Linked DNA regions of Homo sapiens: all the other regions are linked to region 3. Evidence: promoter capture Hi-C in human tissues and cell types (Jung and others, 2019). All regions are on one chromosome and are shown on one strand. The core of a region is centred on a gene start or on the middle of the fragment in contact, and the rest is flanking DNA. Distances in the headings are between cores, read along the strand shown. Region 1 overlaps WDR70 (WD repeat domain 70). Region 2 overlaps WDR70 (WD repeat domain 70). Region 3 holds the start of WDR70 (WD repeat domain 70).

Region 1 (3,438 bases), core at 422-2,921, 250 kb before region 3:
AAAGCCTACCAGTCCTGCCTAGGACAAATCCATCCTTGGGCTAGCCAAACCACTGCATGCCCTCTGCCAGGTGGGAGAGGCCTACAAGTCTGCAAGCAGCTGACATAGCCCTGGGCCAGTGGAGTGGCTAAGTGCCCACACTCAGGGATTCAGAAACACAGTGCCCTCTTCCCTCCCAAGACATGTCCTGCCCAACCCCCTCACATCCTCAACAAGGGTCTGAGAAACAATGCTGTAGGCCACCCCTGGTGGAAACATTGCAGACTGTTGAAGCAGCCATGAGCCTAAATACATGGCTGAGAAACAGCCCTATGAGCCATCCCCAGCAGACATGCCTTAGTCTAGCCAAGCAACTACAAGCATGCCTGTGCTCCTGGCTAGAGTAACATCCCTGTGGCTACAACCCCAGTGAGCCAGACTCCAAGCTGCCTGACCCACTGTGTGCATGAACAAATGCCCAACCTAAGAGACAGCCCAGTTAGCCCAAGCCTGGCAAAGCTGCACTACTGTCACCACAAACTCTCTCAGCCTAGGCCACTGAGAAACTCTCAAATGCCCCCAGTATGGATTACGGTTGAAGAAATTTTATGACAACTACACTACTGTGTCCACCTAGATCCAAAGCCAATGCACTCCATCAAATCAACAACCCAAGATCCATTTATATGAGTAAGTCTTTCCTTGTGACACCTAGTGAATAAAATTGGAAGAGGCGACCACCAGATTCACAGAAATTAATACAGAGACACAGAATAATGAAAAAGCGAGGAAGCATGTCACTTCCAAAGAGAAACATAATTCTCTAGTAACAGACCACAATCATAATACATGCAATGCCAGAAAAAGAATTCAAAATAATAATCTTAAGGAAACTGAGTGAGATACAAGAGAATACAGATAAACAATTCAACAAAATCAGGAAAACAACTTATGATATAAGTAATAAATTCAAGAAAGAGGTGGATTATCATAAAAAAGAACCAAAAAGAAATCCTAGAGCTGAGAATTAAATGAATGAAATAGAAAATATAATTGAGAGCTTCAACAACAGACTATACCAAATGGAGGAAAAAATTTCTGAACTTGAAGATAGATCTTTTGAAATAACACAAGCAGTGGCAAAAATGAATTAAAAAGAATAAGGAAAGCCTAAAGGATTTATGAGATATCATTAAGCAAGCAAATATTCATACTATGGGCATTCCAGATGGAAAAAAGAAGGGTAAAGGTGAGGAAATCATATTTAATGAAATAATAGCAGAAAATTTCCTGAGTCTTGGGAGAGAGATGAGCATTTAGGTCCAGGGAGCTCAAAGAACCCCAAACAGATTCAACCCAAACAGGTCCTCTCTGGAGCCCAACATAGTCAAATTGTAATAAGTAAAAGACAAAGAATTCCAAAAGCATTCAAGAGAAAAGAGTCAAGTCATAAATAAGGGAATCTCCATTAGGCTAACAGCAGATATCTCAGCAGAAAGCTTACAGGCCAGGAGAGAATGGGATGATATATTCAAAGTACTGAAAGCAGGGGTGGGGAAACCCTGCTAGCTAAAAATATTATACCCTGCAAAGCTATCCTTCAGAAATGAAGGAGAAATAAAATCTCCCAATAGAGAAGCAAAAACTAAAGGAATTTATCACCACTAGAACAGTCTTACAAGACATGCTCAAGGGAGTCTTACATCTGGAAGTGAAAAGACAACAGCTACCATCATGAAAACATGTATAACTATAAAACTCACTGGTAGAGCTGATACAAAAGTAAGAAGAGAAAATAATCAATCCTTACCACTAGAGAAAACCACCTAACCATAAAAATGATAAGTAAGGGAATAAGGAACAAAGGATATGCAAAATAACCAGAAAATCAACAAAATGAAAGGAGTAAGTCCTCACCTATCAATAATCTTGAATGTAAGTGGATTAAATTCCCCCATTTAAAACATATACACTATTTGAATGAATGAAAAAACAAGACCCAAACATATTCTGCCTATAAGAATCTCACCTCAGCTATAAAGACACACTTAAACTGAAAGTATTACATGCACATGAAAATCAAGTGAGCAGGAGTAGCTATGCTTATGTCAGACAAAATAGACTTCAAGTTAAAAGCTATAAAGTGACAAAAAAGTACGTTATATAATAATAAAAGGATCAATTCAGCAAGAGAATATAACAATTGTAAATATATTTGCATCCAACACAGGAGCACCCAGATATATAAAGCAAACATTATTAGATCTAAAGGGAGAAATGGGCTTCAGTACATAGTGGGGAACACTTCAATATGTAGTAGGGAATTTCACCCCACTCTCAGCACTGGAAAGGTCATGTAGGCAGAAAATCAACAAAGGAACATAGATTTAAACTGCACCACAGGCCAGAAATGGAGGCTTATGCCTGTAAACCCAACACTTTGAGAGGCCAAGGCAGAGGATCACTTGAGGCCAGGAATTTGAGACAACCCTGGGCAATGTAGTGAAACTCTGTCTCTACAAAAAATAAAAAATAAGCTGGCTGTGATGTCATGTGCCTATAGTCCTAGCTACTAAGGAGGCTGAGGAAGGAGTATCGTTTGAGCCCAGGAATTCAAGGCTGCAGTGAACTATGATCACGCCACTGCACTCCAGCCAAGGTGACAGGGTGAGAACTTGTTTCTACACAAACTGTACCACAGACCTAAAAGACATTTACAGAATATTTCACCTAACAACTTCATTCTTTTCAGCAGCACATGGAACACTCTCCAGGACTGACCATATGTTAGGGCACAAAACAAGTCTCAATAAATTTTTAAAAATCAAGATATGACGCATCTTATCTTGCCACAATGAAATAAAACTAGACATAACAAGAGGAACATTCAAAACTATACCAACACATGGAAACTAAACAAAATGCTTCTAAACAACCAACAGGTTAAACTCAAAATTAAGAATGAAATTTTAAAATTTCTTGAAACAAATGGAAATAGAAACACGATGTACCAAAGCTTATGGCACACAGCAAAAGCAGTATTAAGAGGCAAGTTTATAGTAATACATGCCTATGCCAAAAAATAAAAAGATTTCAAATAAAAAACCTAACAATGCACCTCAAAGAACTAGAAAATGAAGAAAAAAAACAAACAAACCCCAAATTAGTAAAAGAAATAAAAACAATCAGAGCATAAATAAACAAAATTGAGACTGAGGCCTGGCATGGTAGCTCATGCCTGTAATCCCAGCATTTTGGGAGGCCAAGGTTGGAGGATCATTTGAGCCCACACGTTTGAGAACTATGGAAACGTTCTCAAGTTTCCTGGGAAACACGGTGAAACTTCATCTCTACAGAAAAATACAGAAATTAGCCAGGCATGGTGGCACATACCTGTAGTCCCAGCTACTCAGGTGGCAGAGGCAGGATGATCACCTGAGCTCAGGAAGCTGAGGCTGC
Region 2 (3,494 bases), core at 74-2,573, 180 kb before region 3:
TGAGAAGTGAGGAGCCCCTCCGCCCGGCAGCCACTCCGTCTGGGACGTGAGGAGCATCTCCGCCCGGCAGCCACCCCGTCTGGGAGGGAGGTGGGGGTCAGCCCCCCGCCCGGCCAGCCGCCCCGTCCGGGAGGGAGGTGGGGGGGGGTCAGCCCCCCGCCCGGCCAGCCGCCCCATCCGGGGGGAGGTGGGGGGGGTCATCCCCCCGCCCGGCCAGCCGCCCGTCCGGGAGGGAGGTGGGGGGGGGTCAGCCCCCCGCCCGGCCAGCCGCCCCATCCGGGAGGTGAGGGGCGCCTCTGCCCGGCCGCCCCTACTGGGAAGTGAGGAGCCCCTCTGCCCGGCCAGCCGCCCCGTCCGGGAAGGATGTGGGGGGGTCAGCCCCCCGCCCGGCCAGCCGCCCAATCCTGGAGGTGAGGGGCGCCTCTGCCCGGCCGCCCCTACTGGGAAGAGAGGAGCCCCTCTGCACGGCCAGCCGCCCCGTCCAGGAGGGAGGTGGGGGGCCAGCCCCCCGCCCGGCCAGCCGCCCCATCCGGAAAGTGAGGGGCGCCTCTGCCTGGCCGCCCCTACTGGGAAGTGAGGAGCCCCTCTGCCCGGCCAGCCGCCCCGTCCAGGAGGGAGGTGGGGGGGTCAGCCCCCCGCCCAGCCAGCCCCCCCATCCGGGAGGGAGGCCGGGAGGTCAGCCCCCCGCCCAGCCAGCCGCCCCGTCCGGGAGGGAGGCGGGGGGGGTCAGCCCCCCGCCCGGCCAGCCGCCCCGTCCGGGAGGTGAGGGGCGCCTCTGCCCGGCCGCCCCTACTGGGAAGTGAGGAGCCCCTCTGCCCGGCCACCACCCCGTCTGGGAGGTGTACTCAACAGCTCATTGAGAACGGGCCATGATGACAACGGCAGTTTTGTGGAATAGAAAGGGGGGAAAGGTGGGGAAAAGATTGAGAAATCGAATGGTTGCCATGTCTGTGTAGAAAGAGGTAGACATGGGAGACTTTTCATTTTGTTCTGTACTAAGAAAAATTCTTCTGCCTTGGGATCCTGTTGATCTGTGACCTTACCCCCAACCCTGTGCTCTCTGAAACATGTGCGGTGTCCACTCAGGGTTGAATGGATTAAGGGTGGTGCAAGATGTGCTTTGTTAAACAGATGCTTGAAGGCAGCATGCTCGTTAAGAGTCATCACCACTCCCTAATCTCAAGTACCCAGGGACACAAACACTGCGGAAGGCCGGAAGGCCGCAGGGTCCTCTGCCTAGGAAAACCAGAGACCTTTGTTCACTTATCTGCTGACCTTCCCTCCACTATTGTCCTGTGACCCTGCCAAATCCCCCTCTGGGAGAAACACCCAAGAATGATCAATTAAAAAAAAAAAAAAAGAGAATTAAGCCTCAAAGCCATTAATTAACTTGCAGGATCTAAGTTTTCTGATTTTTCTAGGATGTCATTTTACTTTTTTTTTTCTTTTGAGACACACAGTCTCACTCTGTCAGCCAGGCTGGAGCACAATGGTGTTATCTTGGCTCACAGCAACCTCTGCCTCCCGGTTCAAGCAATTTTTGCGCCTTAGCCTCCCAAGTAGCTGGGATTACAGGCATGTGCCACCACACCCAGCTAATTTTTATATTTTAATAGAGACGGGGTTTCACCATGTTGACCAGGCTGGTCTCGAACACCTGGCCTCAAGTGATCCACCTGCCTTGGCCTCCCAAAGTGCTGAGATAACAGGCATGAGCCACCGCGCCCAGCCTAGTATGTCATTTTAAAAAACAAAGAAAAATTTTCACTTAATGACATAAAATTTTAACATGCATTTGGTGTCACCTCCTCATATGTAGACCCCAGGACCATGAGACAGCATCATGGAATACCTCAAATGCCTCTTTTTTCCTTGCCACTATTTCCTTCAACCTTAATTCTCTAAATCCACAAGTTCTTTCTTCCTTTTCCACAATAACACATGAAACAATATTTACATAAATAGCAAAACTGCTTACAATTTCAGATGCTATCTTTATGTTAAATCAACAGAGAACCTTTCTAATTTACTACTAAAAAGCAGTAAGTCACAATATGAACTATAATAAAAGGGATTCTACCCACCAGAGGATTAAGCTTTGCCAATACAATGAGACCTATTTTATAAAAATAACCCTCATAACGACATGGCCTGTTGCTGAGACCCTCCTACACCAGATCCTGTCCTTGTTGGGGATAAAACAAGCTTTAGCACCATGCCAACAAAGCAGCTGCCACAAATGAATTCTTCCTGATTCTAGAGAACTATCACTCCATTTCCCCACCAAGGTGGCTAACCTTATTTGTTGTTAGCATGTGTTTTGGCTATATAGCTTAACTAAATATTTTATGCAATTTAAATTAAACAGCTGTTTTAGCATAGTGTATACCATCTCTGTGATATCGATGAGGAAGACTTTATTTCTAAAAGAATTCAAAAATATGGATTTATAGACTGACCAAAATAATCTTATCCCTCGGTTTTCTATATTAGTTAGATCGGTCCATTTTTCTAGCACTTTGAGAGAGAGGATAGAGGATACCAAGAAGTACAAATTGTCCCGTCTTCGTGGCACTTAAAGTATTATTTAAAGAAATTTCTTTTTTCCTGTAATACCAGTGAAACGAGACATGGCAAGTCTGTAATAGCCAATCACAGTCATCTTCTTAGTAGATTTCCCCTGACAGTATGTATAGTAGACTGCTTTTCATGGAATTAAGAAAAGAATGCAGTTGACTCAGTAATAATGACATATACATGAACCTGCCAGTCATAGGTGTACCACATGGCCGGCTCAGCCAAGCTTTGACTTGTATTTTTTTCTTCAAGATTGGCTTCTTGGTGGTCTGCACCTATAGTCCTAGCTTCTCAAGAGGCTGGAGAAGGAGGACAGCTTGAACCCAGGAGTTCAAGGCTGCAGTGGGCTATTATTGCACTAGTGCAATCTGTCTGGGTGACAGAGCAAGACTCTGTCTCTTAAAAAAAAAAAAAAAAAAATCTGCTTCTGCAAGCCCTGTTCATGTAATAAAATAAATGACGAATAGCTAATAGGATGTCCAGGGAAGGCCCAGTGAAGGCCCAGTGATTCCAAATGTCACAAAGCTTCTAGCTGCTAACAAAGAGGCCTAGTCTCTTTTTTATAAAGAACTATTGAAGCATATTAGATAGGCTCATTTATAATTTGGAATATGCAGTTGCATAACTTGAAGAAATTATGGTAGGAATTAGCAATAACTAATAAAGTTTAATTTATGTTTGGTCAGCAAAGTGTATATAATTTAAATATTTGAAACAGCAGAAAAATAAGAAGGAAAAGTGTCAACTATAGACATACAGCTTACCAGGTAGACTCTCATATTTGACTTTAAACTGAGAGTTCTGGAGAGGTGTGCCCTGTAGCTCATAAGATACATCCTAACAGAAGGAGCTGAACTAGATGAAGAGAAAACATATGGACCAACAGGTCAGAGAAATAACTTTAAATAAAGTAAAAA
Region 3 (3,337 bases), core at 331-2,830:
AGGTGGGCGGACTGCTTGAGCTCAGGAGATTGATCAGCCTGGGCAACATGGTGAAACCTCGTCTCTACCAAAAGTATAAAAAATTAGCCAGGTGTGGTGGCACACATCTGTGGTCCCAGCTACTCAGGAGACTAAGGTGGGAGGATGGCTTAAGCCTGGGAGGAGGAGGCTGCAATGAGCGAAGATCGCACTAGTACACTCCAGCCTGGGTGACAGAGCGAGACTCCATCTCAAAAAATAAAAAAAGAATAGAAAAGGCTGGGCACAGTGGCTCACGCCTGTAATCCCAGCACTTTCGGAGGCCGAGACGGGCGGATCACGAGGTCAGGAGATCGAGATCATCCTGGCTAACACGGTGAAACCCTGTCTCTACTAAAAATACAAAAAAAAAATCAGCCGGGCGAGGTGGCGGGCGCCTGTAGTCCCAGCTACTCGGGAGGCTGAGACCGGAGAATGGCGTGAATCCGGGAGGCAGAGATTGCAGTGAGCCGAGATCTTGCCACCGCACTCCAGCCTGGGCGACTGAGCGAGACTCCGTCTCCAAAAAAAAAAAGAATGAATAGAGAAACTACAGAACTAGTATGTGTGAACACAACCCAAGGCCAATATGTGTAAGTCTACTGTTTAATTACTATCATAGAATTAATACACGCTGGTCAAAAGAAAACAAGAAGACCTTGAGAAAAGGTTCAGGGAAGTTAGAATCCCAATGTTTGGATGAACAGCATTTATAATTTTAAAATGGAAAATAAAGAGAAATCATTTTTCATGTATCAGTCTACTAAGTTTTGTTTTCATTTTTTAAATAATTTTCTTTTTAAATAATAATACCTACTCTGTGTTGGTAGGGATATGGTAAAAATGGCATTCTTAATTCTGTTAACTTTGGTATAACCTGGAACAAGTTTTTTGATGGGTATTACGGCAATAAGCATCAAGAAGCTTTAAAAGGCACATACCCAATTTTTCAGCTTTTTAAGTATTTATATTTCTGAATAAACTACACTCTCTTTTAGAAATCTACCCTACCGAATTACGTATTTTTAAAAATCCTCGTACAAATGCTGTTATTTACAAAAATGTTCATTTTAGCATTATTGGTGACTTAAAATTAGAAAAATCCTTTCTCTTCCTCTCTCTCCAGACTCTCATAACTGTCATCTGAGTTGGTTCCAACGGATAACGCAGAATAGAAGACAAATGGGAGAAGAATATTGACAAACTGCAAGGTATGCACCCGAGCTACAATAATTCCGAGTTGACAGCTCGATCTCCACTCCCACTCTGCGGATCTTCAAACCTCTGCACAAGGAAGAGGGTCTCTGCCTGGGGCAGTCACTCACCGAACCCCGTGAAGCCCATGGTGACCGCAAGCTGCGGGTCCGGTCCCGACGCGTCTGAGCCTGTCACTGGAGCAAGAGGAAAAGAGAGGCGGCCTAGTTAGTGCGGCGCCCCAGCTCCCCCGACACGGCCCACCCCGCCCGGACTCGCCTCATGAAACCCACCTTCGCTGGGCCCAGAGCGCTCCATGGCTGGCCGCACACCCCAGAACCAGCCACAGGGACAGCCCAAACAACTGCAGGGGAACTTGCCAATAACTTGCGGCAAATGCTGGAGGAAGTACCGCCTTCAAGCTACAGCGGCGCCGCCGAAGCCAAGAGCGGCGCCTTCCGCAGAGGGACCGCGGCTTTCTGCGCGGCACCGCCCTACCGGACAGGCGGGAAAGCGCCGCGCAACTCAGACCACTGGAGGGGAGAAGTAGTATCTGGAGTTTCTATAACATCCTTTCCCTTTTTTTTTTTTTTTTTTTAAGCCAGAGCCTCTGTCGCCCAGGCTGCAGTACAGTGGCGTAATCTCAGCTGACTGCAACCTCTGCCTCCCGGGATCAAGCGATTCTCCTGCCTCAGCCTCCCGAGTAGCTGGGATTACAGGTGCCGGCTAATTTTTGGTTTTTTGTTTTGGTTTGTTTTTTTTTTGTTTTTGTTTTTGTTTTGAGACGGAGCCTCTGTCGCCCAGGCTGGAGTGCAATGGCGTGATCTCGGCTCACTGCAACCTCCGCCTCCCGGGTTCAAGCGATTCTCCTGTCTCAGCCTCCCAAGTAGCTGGGATTACAGGCGTCCACCACCACGCGCAGCTAATTTTTTGTATTTTTAGTAGACACGACGTTTTGCCATGTTGGCCAGGCTGGTTTCGAACTCCTGGCCTCAAGTGATCCGCCTGCCTCGGCCTCCCAAAGTGCTGGGATTACAGGCGACACCCTTTGCTTTTTTTTTTTTTTTTTTTTTTTTTGAGGCAGAGTCTCACTCTGTTGCCCAGGCTGGAGTGCAATGGCGTGATCTCGGCTCACTGCAACCTCTGCCACCCAGGTTCAAGCTCTTCTCTTGCCTCAGTGTCCTGAGTAGCTGGGATTACAGGCGCCTGCCACCACACCCGGCTAATTTTTGTGTATTTAGTAGAGACGGGGTTTTGCTATGTTGGCCAGGCTGGTCTTGAACTCCTGACCTCAGGTGATCTGCCCACCTTGGCCTCCCAAAGTGCTGGGATTACAGGCCCCGTGCCACCGCGCTCTGCCTTTTTGTTGTTGTTGTTGTTGTTGTTGACTGAGTCTCCCTCTGTTGCCTTGGCTGGAGTGCAGTGGCGTGATCTCAGCTGACTGCAACCTCTGCCTCCCAGGTTCAAGCGATTCTCTTGCCTCAGCCTCCCGAGCAGCTGGGACTACAGGTGTGCGCCACCATGCCCGGCTATTTAGTATTTGAGACTACAGGCACCCGCCACCACGCCCAGCTAATTTTTTCTATTTTTAGTAGAGGCAGGGTTTACACCGTGTTAGCCAGGATGGTCTCAATCTCCTGACCTTGTGATCTGCCCACCTCAGCCTCCCAAAGTTCTGCGATTAAAGGCGTGAGCCACTGCACCTGGCCTGTCAGTCTAAAGTTTACAAGGCTAATCGTGTGCTCAGGATTGTCCTTCTTAAACAGAATGTGGGAGTTCAACACTTTAACGTTTAGAAGGTGGAGAAGAATCTCTTTCTTTTTGAGACAGAATCTCACTCTGTCACCCAGGCTGGAATGCAGTGGCACAATCTCGGCTCAATGAACCTCCACCTCCTGGGTTCAAGCGATTCTTGTGCCTCAGCCTCCTAAGTAGCTGGGATTACATGTGACCGCCACCACACCCGACTTTTTTTTTTTTTTTTGAGACAGAGTCTCGCTCCATTGCCCAGACTGGAGTGCAGTGGCGCGATCTCAGCTCACTGCAACCTCCGCCTCCTGGGTTCAAGCAATTCTGCCACAGCCTTGCGAGTAGCTGGGATTACAGGCCCTGCCACCACCCCTGG

The links. Contacts are between HindIII fragments. The study calls those that stand out against the background at their distance.
Region 1: a contact is called between a fragment that was not itself captured here and the fragment with the promoter of WDR70 in region 3, in 1 of the 25 tissues and cell types used here (lymphoblastoid cells).
Region 2: a fragment that was not itself captured here is called in contact with the fragment with the promoter of WDR70 in region 3 in 1 of the 25 tissues and cell types used here (bladder).

The regions. Positions count from the first base shown.
Region 1 is chr5:37,627,166-37,630,603 of GRCh38, reverse strand. The region is part of intron 10 of WDR70 (WD repeat domain 70); the gene reads right to left. Among named protein-coding and RNA genes, the nearest start is that of GDNF-AS1, 210 kb to the left of the region's middle. RefSeq lists an enhancer at 1-259. The HindIII fragment of the contact is 4,042 bases long and covers 1-3,438 here.
Region 2 is chr5:37,560,313-37,563,806 of GRCh38, reverse strand. All of the region lies in intron 9 of WDR70 (WD repeat domain 70), which reads right to left. Among named protein-coding and RNA genes, the nearest start is that of WDR70, 180 kb to the right of the region's middle. RefSeq lists a silencer at 685-863 and an enhancer at 671-1,378. The HindIII fragment of the contact is 4,709 bases long and covers 1-3,494 here.
Region 3 is chr5:37,377,561-37,380,897 of GRCh38, reverse strand. It overlaps WDR70 (WD repeat domain 70), which reads right to left and starts at 1,580. Exons shown (of 18, transcript NM_018034.4): 1 at 1,506-1,580; 2 at 1,344-1,409. The coding sequence starts at 1,530. The HindIII fragment of the contact is 7,487 bases long and covers 1-3,337 here.